Regions from separate parts of the Homo sapiens genome. Here region 2 is linked to region 1. Evidence: promoter capture Hi-C in 16 types of primary human blood cells and fetal thymus (Javierre and others, 2016). All regions are on one chromosome and are shown on one strand. The core of a region is centred on a gene start or on the middle of the fragment in contact, and the rest is flanking DNA. Distances in the headings are between cores, read along the strand shown.

Region 1 (5,886 bases), core at 2,832-5,331:
CTCCACGGCGTATTTTTGTTCATTGTATTCCTCCTCTGACCCACTATGTCACACTGTGTTTCATAAGTCAGTGGGGAAGTAGAACCATTTCTCCAGTTGGGACAGACCCTCCTGGGGAGTGAAGGAAGAACTAGAACATAGGACTCCTAGATCCAGGCCAGCGGTTCTGGGACCTTTACTCATCAATATAGAGCCCGTGTTTCACTTAGAAAAAGGTCCCCCACTCTGTGGAGGCCCACCCTCTAGGATTGTGGCTTGGTGGGCAGAGCAAGGGCTGGAGTTCCACCATGACTCTTCCCCAACAGGAACTAAGCTGATACTATTGTGCAGGACACAACTTCCTCAGCCAGTTACAGCAGACTCGTCTGGACTTACTCAACCGAGTTCTCTTCTGGTGACGACATTTCTCTACCACGCTGGCCAGTCACATTGCTGTGGTAGCCATTACCTATCCTCAACTCATTGTCTGTCTGAAAGATGCAGAATTTCCTCCAACTAGCAAGCCACCCCTTCTACTCTGAAAAGACAGTGAGAGAAGGCAGCAGGCAAACCTGGGCTATTAACCACCCAAAGCCAGCGCCTCCTGGCAGAAATCTTAGTGTTTCTGGTTGTAGACACTCAGCTTGGCAGAGGTTGAGAAAGAATGTTGTTCCAGAACAGCTTCTCGCAGACGTCAACCCCAACTTCCGGGTCAGGCTTATTCACATCTCCTGCCTCTGCTCAGGTGGCATTCCTGCCCTGCCTGGCATGCTCTCCTCTCTTCTCCCTGGTGACCTCCTCTTCCTTTTCACATCTCCCTTTCTGTGAACCCTGCCTTGGCCTCTCTAGGAAGCTGGGAACTCGCTTCTCAACTCTCCTACAGAATATCACTGGTGCCATTTACCACTTAGAACATCGACTTGCAATCAGTTACACACCTGTCTCCCTCTCTGGATGGTGAGTTGTTCAAGGGCTGAAAGGTGTCAAACAGATATCTGTGACTCTGGAGCCTGTATAAATGACCTCATTTTCCCAGACTCTCTCCAGTCCTTTTTGTGGTCACCTTTTCTTTTAATGAGAATAAATGGCTCCAGTTGCCATCTCTCATACCTTGGGAAGTCAATTGCCCTCCCTGTGAACTCTGGAAAGAGCAATAAGAGAGATTGTCTGGCAATGGCCTGGGGAACGCACTATGTGCTGCCTGGACAATAAACTTTCAGGGACCAAGAGCCCTCTCCTCCCAGCTAGAGGGGCTCCACTTGGGCTGAGCTTCCCGCTAGACTGGATCTTTCATCCCCGGTGGCAGGGACTGCAACTTTTCATGGTGCTCAAGATATCCAAGCATGGAGCAGCCGGTTTCCCACACAACAGCTATAAACAACTGACACCCAAATGCACTGAGGTGCCTGGCAATTAACCTCTCCACTGAGAAGGCTGCTTTCTCATAGTGAGGCTGTGCCCCTTCCCTGGGAAGTCACTCTGCCTCTCAGAGGTGATGGAAGGGTGAGTTTCCTGTGTCCTCTCCTCTTGCCAACCTGGCCTTGGAAGTTTCCTTTTAGCAAGAAAACCAACACCATGCCAACACTGGAATTCGTTTCCAACACTGATGCCTGGCCAATGGTGATGCCCAGACAGGCCATCCTCCTGTGCCCACCTCCAGCGTGTGACCCTCTAAATTCCAGTCCTCCTCACTCAGTGTCTGCCTCCTGCCTCTGCTGCCTTCTCCCTGAAATGCCTCCCCCATCCATGGCTTCGATTCTCACCCTCCTTTTCCCAAACCCAGTTGCTTTAGTAGTAGGAGTCTTCCTAAAGGCCGAGTCATAAATATGACCCACAAAAGATCAGGGAAACACTGGATAAGTAACACAAGATCATTCTGAGCTCTTGGCCATCATACCACTGGACAACTACAGTGTCCATCCTTCTCCCCAAGCCCAGCCTCCCACTAGCCTGTGGAACTTTCCTACTAAGAAATGTTCCTATATTCTCTTCCTCTTCTCTTTCCAGATTGTGGCCTCTCCCTCCCTCTTCCCACCAGAAAAAAATCTGAAATTATGATTATGTTATCAGGAAAGTTGTCTTCATCTATGACTAGCCTATGTTCATGCCCTGAGGAGGGAAGGGAGAAAAGTTTTGCTTTTCTTAACCCAAGAGACTCGCATGGCATTTTTCTACACCAAAGAGCCATCCACCCATTTTCCTTCCCATCAGAAAAAAGTCTGAAATTACGATTATGTTATCAGGAAAGTTGTCTTCATCTAGAAATAGCTTATGTTCACACTCTGAGAAGGGTAGGGAGAAAAGTTTGCTTTTCTTAATCCAAATAGCTCACATGGCATTTTTCTACATCAAAGAGACATCCACCCCTGTTTTCCATCTTTAGCCCCACCAAAACAACATTTCTGAGGCTTTAAAATTCTAGTAGTTCCTTAGTGTGCACTTCAGCAGATTCACTCCCTACCTCTCCCAACTCTACTAATGATAACAGAGGGTCCCGTATCCAGTGGAGCTTCCCTGGGGCATGTGCTCTGTGACTTCTTCCTTTCACTCCAGCGCAGTGTGAATGAGGGGGTGAGTGAGTCGATGCTCTATTTCTGCATGTGTGTCAGGGGAGCGGGTATACATGTGTTGGAGTTGAAGGTCACATGTGTGTGTGATTGCATGTGGATGTACTCCCTTGTGCTGTTCCGGGAGGGATGTGTGTGTGCCGTGCACATGTGTGCTTACATGTGCTAGGGCTGGAGGTCAGGTAGCGTGCAGAAGAGGAAGAAATTTGTATAGGATTTGAGATTTCTCAGGCTGCCTCTTGCCAAGTGGTTTCCTCTGAAGCTCAGAATCAGCCCATATGGGCTGGGGTGGAAAATAACCACTGTAAGCAGGCAGTCCCTGACTCATTCCGAAAGCGTGTGGGCCCACCACTTACTACAATGTGTCTCACAATTGAATCTGCTCACCCTGCCTTCAGACTGTGCCTCTGAGGCCCCGTATTCCTTTCCAAAAGCTTGGGAGAAACCATGTAGACCCTTTATCACATCCATCTACTTTTTCCCTCCTGCCTGGCCCTCTTCCCTGGAACAAAGCTCACACTGCCATTTCTTCAGACTCTGTATCCAAAGATCTACCCATTAAAACCTCTGTACTCTCCCCAAGAGGTCCTGGAGAGTGCCTTCAAGGTTCCATTAGTGTCCTTGTGGCTGTATTTGCTCTGTCTTCCCTTTCTGTCTCTCCTACTTACAACCGCTGTGGAGACCCATCACCCCAGAGCCAAGTAGAAGCAACATCATCTCCGGGAAAGGGGACCACTGAGACCATCTCCAACAGAGAAACCATTACAGCGTCTGCTTCTTAGTTCCATAGAATATGCACCCCAGACACCTCATCTGTCCAAGATGATTTCTCTGTTCCTAATCCTTTCCCCTAACCCTGAGGTGAGAGTATGGCTAGGTCGGGCTCACAGGTAAGACTCATGAATATTTGTTGAGTACATTAGGCAGCAATACGGGCAGTCATTTTATATTCAGACCCAGCCATCTTGATGCATCATGAAGTGGCTTGAAAATGCCTGCCTCAAAAGGTCCCACTTTACTCCCAGGATGGTGCTACCTACTGTGCTTGGAGCTGTAGCCTATATGCAGGTTATTGTCCTGAGCTATGCTGCCCTGCACTACCACAGTGTGTACGTCCTGCTAATGACAAGAGAAGCAGTGCTGATATTCAGCTGGAATGCATCGACACACCTCTACTGGTTATTTATAGCCTGCAAGCACACCCATAGGTTATCTGCTGACTGGCTGGTGCCCTTCCACTGCCAATGGTTTATATGCTCCCCTGGGGGGGGTATCCCTCCCACCCACCTCCATACACTCCCCCTACACACATGCACACTCACTCATGCATTTAGAACCTTGCTGCTATAAGACACCCTGGAGGCCCCCTTGCCAGGCCAGCAATTCCTCTGGACAAACTGAATGTTCTATCTATGCCTGTAGCCACCTCTTCTTAGCACTCAATAGACCATGAGCAGAGTCAAAGGACAACTTCACATAGCCTCCTATCTCCCTAAATCCCCTCTCCTAGTGCCTCTGTTCTTCCACTACTCTGTCCCTCCCTTCTGTATCTGCCCTTGATTTCTGCATTAAGTCCATTTGCTGCCAGGTTCTAGGGACCTTATGGTCTTGGGCAATCCAAAGTAGAGCTCCACATGGCCCATGAAGCAAAGGCTGGGCCATGGAAAATAGATGTTACTGCTTACTGGTTGAGTTAGCCTCATTGAAAAATCTCAAATGGGGCCAGGCACTGTGGCTCATGCCTATAATCCCAGCACTTTAAGAGGCCAAGGTAGGCAGATCACCCATGGCTGGGAGTTCAAGACTAGCCTGGCCAACATGGTGAAACCCCGTCTCTACTAGAAATACAAAATATTAGCTGGGCGTAATGGTGGGCACCTGTAATCCCAGCTACTCGGGAGGCTGAGGCAGGAGAATTGCTTGAACCTGGGAGGCGGAGGTTGCAGTGAGCTGAGATCACACCATGGCACTCCAGCCTGGCCAACAGAGCATGACTCTGTCCAAAAAAAAGAAAAGAAAAGAAAGAGGGAAGGGAATGGAAGGGAAGGGAAGGGAGGGGAGGGGAGGGCAGGGGAGGGAAGGGGAGGGGAGGGGAGGGGAGGGAAGGGAAGGGAAGGTTTCAAATGGGAAGCTCATTACCAGAGGGAACTTCTGATTATCAATGCAGTGGATTACAAATTTCACAGTCACAGAAACAGACAAACAAAAGTCCAACTTAAAGTCTACTTTGGGCCCTCATCTTGCCAGATAACAGAAAACATAATTTAGTCATTTCTTGACAAATGGAGTCACTGCGTATACATGTGCAGTCTCTTTGGGATAGACGGTCAAGGGACTTCTCTCTCACTGAGTGACATCTGAATTCTGTTTGCCAATGTCATGACCTGATGTTAATGTTCTCTTCCAGGATTTGGTCCTTGCTTGTTGGGTGGCCAGGAAATAACAGCTTTGCACAGGCTGCTCAAGGTGGTGAGAGAAAGACCTATAGCCCCTTGCCTGAATCCAAACCACTGTTTTTTGGCTATTACAAGATAATTTATAAGTGACTTATTTGTATGCTGCATACTATTTTTTGCTGCTATACATTTTAATTTCCAATGTTATTTTGGGTGACTTAAAGGAAGTGGCTGGGAAAGAAAGCTTTGGCTTGACATACGGAAACTGCTACTTAACCTATACAGAATAAGAATATGGGCTTTGGAGAGGACAGATCAGGTTTGTCAGAGTGTGAATTCTCTGACTCATGAAAGTTAAAATGTAATCAATAAACATTCTTAACGGGGATAAGTGTATCAGTGTTAAAGCCACATTTTACTGAAGTTTGTTATTTTTTTCTTAAAAAATGTTCATTGCTTTTTTATTTTAAAAAGTCACACATTTAAAATGTAAAAAAAAATTATAACTAAAAAATTGAAAGTCACCAGTAAACCCAACAAAAATTCCAAAAATAACCATTTTAAATATTTTGATGTATATCCTTCTGGCCTTTTGTCTCTATGTGTGGATGTGTATAAATTTAAAGATAACACTAATTATTTATATATACTTTCATTCCTTTTTTGGGGGGTTATTATATTTGCTGTATATCATGAGCTGTTTCAGTTTTTCACTAAAATATCTGTGAAGCCATTGACGATGAAATTGAAAGAGAAACTTAAAAAAGAAAATCTGGCCGGGCACTATGGCTCACGCCTGTAATCCCAGCACTTTGGGAGGGCAAGGCAGGTGGATCACCTGAGGTCGGGAGTTCATGACTAGCCTGACCAACATGGTGAAACCCCATCTCTACTAAAAATACAAAATTAGCTGGGTGTGGTGGTGCATGCCTGTAATCCCAGCT
Region 2 (6,482 bases), core at 296-2,795, 390 kb before region 1:
GAATTGAAGGTAGGAGACCAGACTGAAGACACAACCCCTCTAAAGTTGTGTCTGCCTCTATGACTGAACATTTTCCATTGCCTCACTCAGTGCATCTCAATAACATTTTTCTGTAAATAAGAACCACACTTTATTTGGAAAATCTAGACTTAAAAAGGTTGATTTGTAATCCAAAGAAAATAATGAAAGTGAGGTATTTGATTAAGAAATCTTAATAAAATGACTGGTTCTAACAGTCATTTAGCCCCAAAACAAACTTACGTGTATTTTAATCATCTGACACAAGTCAACTTCATTATCAAGTTTCAAACAGTGCTTGGAGATTGGTGTCTGTCTTTTTCCCAACAACTTGAACCATTGACAGGTAGTCACAGAGAGTGATTTTAATAGTTTTTATCAGCCTGGACATTCCTAAACAGCATAAGTAATGTTGCACTAAAGATAGCATACCATTGGGAAGATTTTAGAACTTAGTTCCCATGAAGACATGATTTAATTTCTCAATTACTAATTAAAAACATATCAAAGTATGTAAATTATGCAAACTTTGATCATTTACTGTTCATCAAATAGAACCAACTTCTGTTGACTATGAAACTTTGTATATAGTATCACTATCCTAATCGCTTTATAAGGTAGGAGTAAATTATTTTCTGATTCACCACTTATGGCCACATTTTGTAACATGAGAACTAGTAATGGATTGTTTTTGTAGCTGTAATTCAATCAATCAAACCAGGCTAATTCTACAGCTTCAAGTTGAATATTTCAATAAATTATATATAAACCCTATTAGGAAAATATAAACCTGGTTTATAGAGACCTGTAAAGATGTCAGGAGAACTTTCTGGCCTTCCTTGGAAGATTTCTAAATCAAAGCACACATTTACAAATTTCATTTGTTTGGGATATAAAATAATCCCAGTGTAATGTAATATATTAGTATGTTACTTGTTCTTTTCATTTTTGATCAATATTGTACGGGTATGCCCAGCCCAAATTACCTTATTTTAGTGTTCCCCAAGTATTAAGCTTAATTTTAAGCCTATAAATCCTGCAGCAAAAGAAGGTCTTATTGCTCTATCTCACAAGTGCTTAGAAGAATCTACAGGCAGTACACTGACATTCAATAGAAAATTAGTAACAGTAGGAAAAAAAAAAGCCCTTCAGTTACAGATCTAAAACTTTTCAAGAAACAGAATCTGCCAGTTCCATCAAAGCGACACATCTATTCTGAAAAATAATGTGTGCATACGTGTTCCTTCCAAAGGGAGTTCCCAGCCTCTTCTTCCAATTGACAAAGGACAAAATTATTACTGAAATACGAAGCTTCCTGTGGTTGACAGTGGAAAAATTGAGGACTGAGCAGTTCCTCGGCTGAAAAATGTCTGAATGTCAACAGGTGCAGAAGTCTCTTAATAAAGGGAATCCCACCCTACCTTCTTCTCACAGATGCCCACGCACATTGCTGTGCACAGGTGCTTGCAGAGAAGTTTTGTCTTCGGCAGCCTCTTGTTCTCTTGTCTGTTTCCTGGTATAAATGAGTGTATAGTTCTTGGGAAAGTCAGTCTTACAACTTCTCTTGTTTTCTTTTGAAAACAGCCTGCGTAACCAGAGGCAAAGAAGCAGAATGAGGTCACACTTCCTGTTGGGCTCACATCAGTGGCATTCACACTGAGGAGTGTGCTGAAGATTTCAGAGAGTTTCCTGGGCCAGCAGCAGGGAATGTGCAGCCCATGTGTCAGGCCAGCTGGTTACACCCTGGTCACTGGAGGGGTGGTTTTCTGAGCTAACTTGTCACCTTTGGCTGCGAGAACGTGAGAAAGACTCAGCGAACTGACATTTCTTGCTCATCATATGGCCACATTCAGTTATAAGTAGTGCAGAGTAGTGATCTTTGTCCAAATCACTTAAATTTATTGAGGATAATGCACTGATGCTATTAAATTCAGAATACTATTAAATAGCAAGAGCTTGATCTTATGAAAATTTCTATAGAGGCAATAGGTTTATCTAATGAAGGTTGGACTTCACAAAAAACTCTATAGATGGCATTTTACATTTACATTATAGTAGAGCTCAAAGACTTGATGGTGTTTATGGGTTCATACACATCTGTACTACTGTAAGTGATAAAAGAAATGTACATTCAAATATATATTCCAGCAACATTGAGGTACCACTGCATAGTGGAAAGAGTGCGGATTCTGGGGTCACAAGACAGAAATTCAACCTGTCTACCATCCTAGCTGTGTGACCTCAGATTTGTGACTTACCCCTCTGAGTTGCAGTTTTCTCAATTATAAACATAAAAATATATATGTCATATGATGGCTTGAAGAATTAAATGAAATAAAAGAAATGAGAAATAATCGAGTCCTCAGCACAGATGTGCAAGGTGTATTCTTTATTTGTTTTCTTAAATCAAGTTCTCTTCTGAGGCACCAGTTGGTCCGGCTGGCGGAAAAGTTAATCTCATCCTTTCCTGGGGTTCCCTTTCCCCCTGAGGTTCTGCCACATGGCAGGATCTTCTGTAGAACATGTTCTAGGCAGCAGGAACTGTCAGGAGGAGGGCCCATCTAATTTCAAAGTTCTCTGTCTCTGGAACTTCATGTCTATTCTCCATCCCTTGAGTGTAGACTGAGGCTGCTGACATGCTCCTTGTAAATAAAGTAAGGCAAAGGTGCTGAGTTTCCACTACCATGATGAGGCTTCCATCTTGTTGGACTCTATTACTTTCTTGCTTGCCTGCTTTGATGAAGCAAGCTGCCATGGTGGAGAAGCCCATGTGTCAAGGAATCAAGAGTGGTCTCAAAAGCCAGTAAGGGTCTGATGCTCCATCCAACAGCCAGGAATCCAGCCAAAAACCAAGTGTGTGAGCTTGGAAGTGGATCCTTCTCCAGTTGAGCCTTGAGCTGACTGCAGCCCCATCTAATGCTCGATTGGAACTGGGAAAGACCCAGAAGCAGACAACCCAGGCTAGCCCTGCCCAGCTCCCTGGCCCACGCAAACTGGGAAGTGACAAATGGTATTTCAAGCCACCACGTTTTGAGGTAATTTGTTACACAGCAACACATAGCAGATGCATAGTCCTAACACAGGTCACTTCCTGAGCCATCTGTCATTGCTGACTCTCTGCTGCTTTAGTGACTCCTGTAGAATATAGTCACATTTACTCAAGGCTACTCCTGGTCACATCTGCCTAAATTTAACAGACAGCTATTCTGCTTCACAGCTGTCTGGTATTCTCTTTACTGGAATTCACAGTTCTCTTCTTCTCCTTTTCCTGTTTTTCTTATCCCTCATCCTCCCTCTTCCAGCCTTGGCTTATCTCTTCTAGATGAGGGAGGAAAATCTTTCTGACTTATTCGAGACCCTCTGCTCTTCCTGTGCCCACAAATCCACTTTTCCGAAGAGCTCACATCAGAAAGACTTTGGTCTACTTTTTTTTTTTTTAAAGATCTGGCACATATTAGAACCTTATTATTAATGATCATAATAATTGCTAACTTTAAGGAGTGCTTACTATGTACCAGGCACTGTTCTAAGGTCTTTCCACATATCAACACATTAATTGTTACATCAATTCCATGGGAGATGCTGTATTATTATTCTCATTTTACAGAAGAGCAAACTGAGTTTAGAGAGTTGCCCAAATTCACATAGCCAGTACGTGATGAGTAAGTAGAGCTAGGATTCAAACCCTGATGAGATGGCTCTCGAGTTTGCTTTCTTAACCTATAAGTGTAATGATCATATCCAACGTGTGTCAGCATTTTCTACAAACCAGGCACTGCACTAAACACTGTACATATGTAATCTTGTTTCAACCTCACGTAGCCCTAGAAAATAAGTGCAATTGTTATCCACATGCAGGACAGAGGTTTATAGAGTTTGCATAAATCTTTCAAAATTGCCAATGGCCAGAACTAAATTCCAAACCTATGGTTCCCCTCTCAATCTTCTCTCTTGAGACCCACTCATCTTCTTCTTGTTTCTCATACACTAGACACGGGTCTACTTCAAGATCTTTGAGGTTAGTGTTCCCTCACCCTAAGGGTCACAGGGCTTTCTTCCTCCCCTCCCTCAGCTCTTTTCTCCACTGCCTTGCTACTAATTAATTGCCCTCCACACCACTCCCTAGTCTCTTCCTGCTTTATTCTTCTCCTTAGCACTTTTTACCAAGGAATATGTCACACAATTCATTCCTTGTAATAAGAAACGTACTCCTCAGCCAGAACATGAGCATTAAAAGAGCAGAGAATATTGTCATTTTGCTTCATTTTAATAGCCCAAGTATCAAGAGTAGTGCTTCCCATATAGTAGGTTATCAATTAATGTTTGTGGAATTAACAAATAAATTAATTACATCCAGGTAGACTTGCCTTCAGAACCTTTATTCTGCATGTTATAAATCAATGTTTCTAAAAGCATGTTCCACAGAATATTCAGTCCTCCACTGTTAATGGAGGTGATGCGTGTGGATGGGGAAAAGACGAGTGGCAAATTTCAGTACAAAAAGTTCTAGAAAGCATAGGTCTCTAATAGAGGTCACTATAGAATCTTTTAAATGATACTCGGACTTGCTACTATACACAGGAAACATGGTCTCACCATCTGTCAAAATTATTTGCCTTGAGAATCTTTTGGTCACATAATATCTCCCAAGACCCCAGTTCCAGAGCTATGTGTTGCAAACGTTCATGTGTTGCAAATGAATCACAGAGGATCTTACAGAAGTGAGGGAATTGGAGACAGTGTTTCATATCAGCTCCCACGTAAAGCCAAAACTGTTAGTCCCTAAGATACTCTTTGACAGGCGGAATGCTAAAGAACTCATGTTAGGAAATGCTGACATAAATTGATGGACTTGACAAATTTAATTTTAACACACTACAAACAACGAACAAACATGTCTGCATGCTTCCTTAAATCCCTCATGTACTCATGATCTCTCTTCCTACCCAAGCCTCATCCTGCTCTGGAACACTGTGTCCCATTAGATGGCAATATCTTCCACCCAATCACTCATGCCAGAAAACTGGGAGAAATTGCGACTCCTCTCCATGTAGCTTTTGAACACGGACTTGAAATCTTGATTCCTCTTCATGTAGCTCTTAGGCTTATCATCTAAGTCTCCATCTCCACTATCTGCTCTAGGGCTCCAGCTACATCAAATCAGTATGCATAAGCCATATAATAATAGCTATCAATAAGGTACATTACATAATGAAAAATATGAACTGGGAGGTTGTGTGTGTGTGTGTGTGTGTGTGTGTATTGCACTTGTTGCCTGGACTTCCATGCCAACATGCCAAAGTCACTTGGCCTCTCTCCAATACACTCCCCAAGCCATGGTCAGAATGACCTCTCCAATAGAATATCTGATTATGTCACTCCCCTGATTAAATTCATCAGTGCTTGCCCTTGCTCCTCTCTCCTGTGAAGTTCAAAATCCTCTTCATGGCCTGCCAGGCCTGGTAGGGTCTGGACTTGACTATTTTTCAGCCTCATTGTTCCCTCAACAGGCCCCATCTGTCTTTTTAGAATTCAACCATGCTGGCTTCCTTTCAGCTTCTCTAGCTTTGCTCCACCTCAGGCCCTTGGAATGTGCTATTTTCTTCATCTCCCATCTCTTTCTGAAAGAGCTTTTTCTCTGAGCAGCCTCTCTGACCCTCCCAGACCAGGTTATGGATCCCATAGCTGTCTGCGCTTTCCTTTCAGAGGATGCATCACAATTGGAACTAATGAGCCAAGTTTCTGTCCATGTTGGTTCCTCCTGCTACACTGTGAGATCTCAGAGAATAAGGAGAATGCTTTTCTAGTTTGCTATTACGGTTTCTATCATTATCATAGTAGGCACTTAATAATATGTGAATAAGATTTTTTATCATCCAAGTCTGGCTAGGTTCTCTGCCACACATAGCACACAAGGGCCAGAAGGAGATATATGGGCCAAAGCCTGGACAGGCTACTAATCTAGAAGGAGTTGGAAGCTAGCAATTTTATCATAACAGTTATGCCACAGTAAAAATCAACCTTCAAGCCTTAGTGGCATACAGCAGTAAGCTTTTATTTTCCCACTTGATGGCTTTGTAATATGTTAACTTGGCCAAGTGAACCTACATTTCTCAGAATTCCTTTTTTGCATGCTCCTGGTTAAGATAGGCCCTAAAAGCAACTTGTGCGAGATTTGGAAGATGAAAGTGGAGCTGAAGCTGTGTGTATTTTTGGAAGGTCCCCGAAAGTTAGACTTTGCGGCAAGCTCATGCACGTTTCCACAGACCTGCTGGCTTGATGTAAGGACTCGGCCCAAAGCTCCAGTCCCTGCAGATCACTTCCTTCCATTTTACAAGTCCTAGTAGAGGAGAGGGTGTGGCTCTGCAGAAAGAATGCCAGCTTCTGTTTAGAGTATACCCGGCAATGAGGGTAGAGTCTCAGAGATAGGAAAAGGCCTATATGGCTTTTGGTGATAGACAGAT

Evidence for each region. Contacts are between HindIII fragments. The CHiCAGO score rates a contact against its expected background, and 5 or more counts as called.
Region 2: a contact is called between the fragment with the promoter of TMEM71 here and a fragment that was not itself captured in region 1, in 1 of 17 cell types (activated CD4 T cells). The highest score is 6.5, in activated CD4 T cells.

What each region holds. Positions count from the first base shown.
Region 1 is chr8:133,150,235-133,156,120 of GRCh38, forward strand. All of the region lies in intron 1 of LOC105375769 (a long non-coding RNA gene), which reads left to right. Among named protein-coding and RNA genes, the nearest start is that of CCN4, 38 kb to the right of the region's middle. The HindIII fragment of the contact is 2,206 bases long and covers 2,979-5,184 here.
Region 2 is chr8:132,759,037-132,765,518 of GRCh38, forward strand. TMEM71 (transmembrane protein 71) reads right to left here and starts at 1,546. Exons shown (of 10, transcript NM_001382403.1): 1 at 1,440-1,546. The HindIII fragment of the contact is 4,740 bases long and covers 1,328-6,067 here.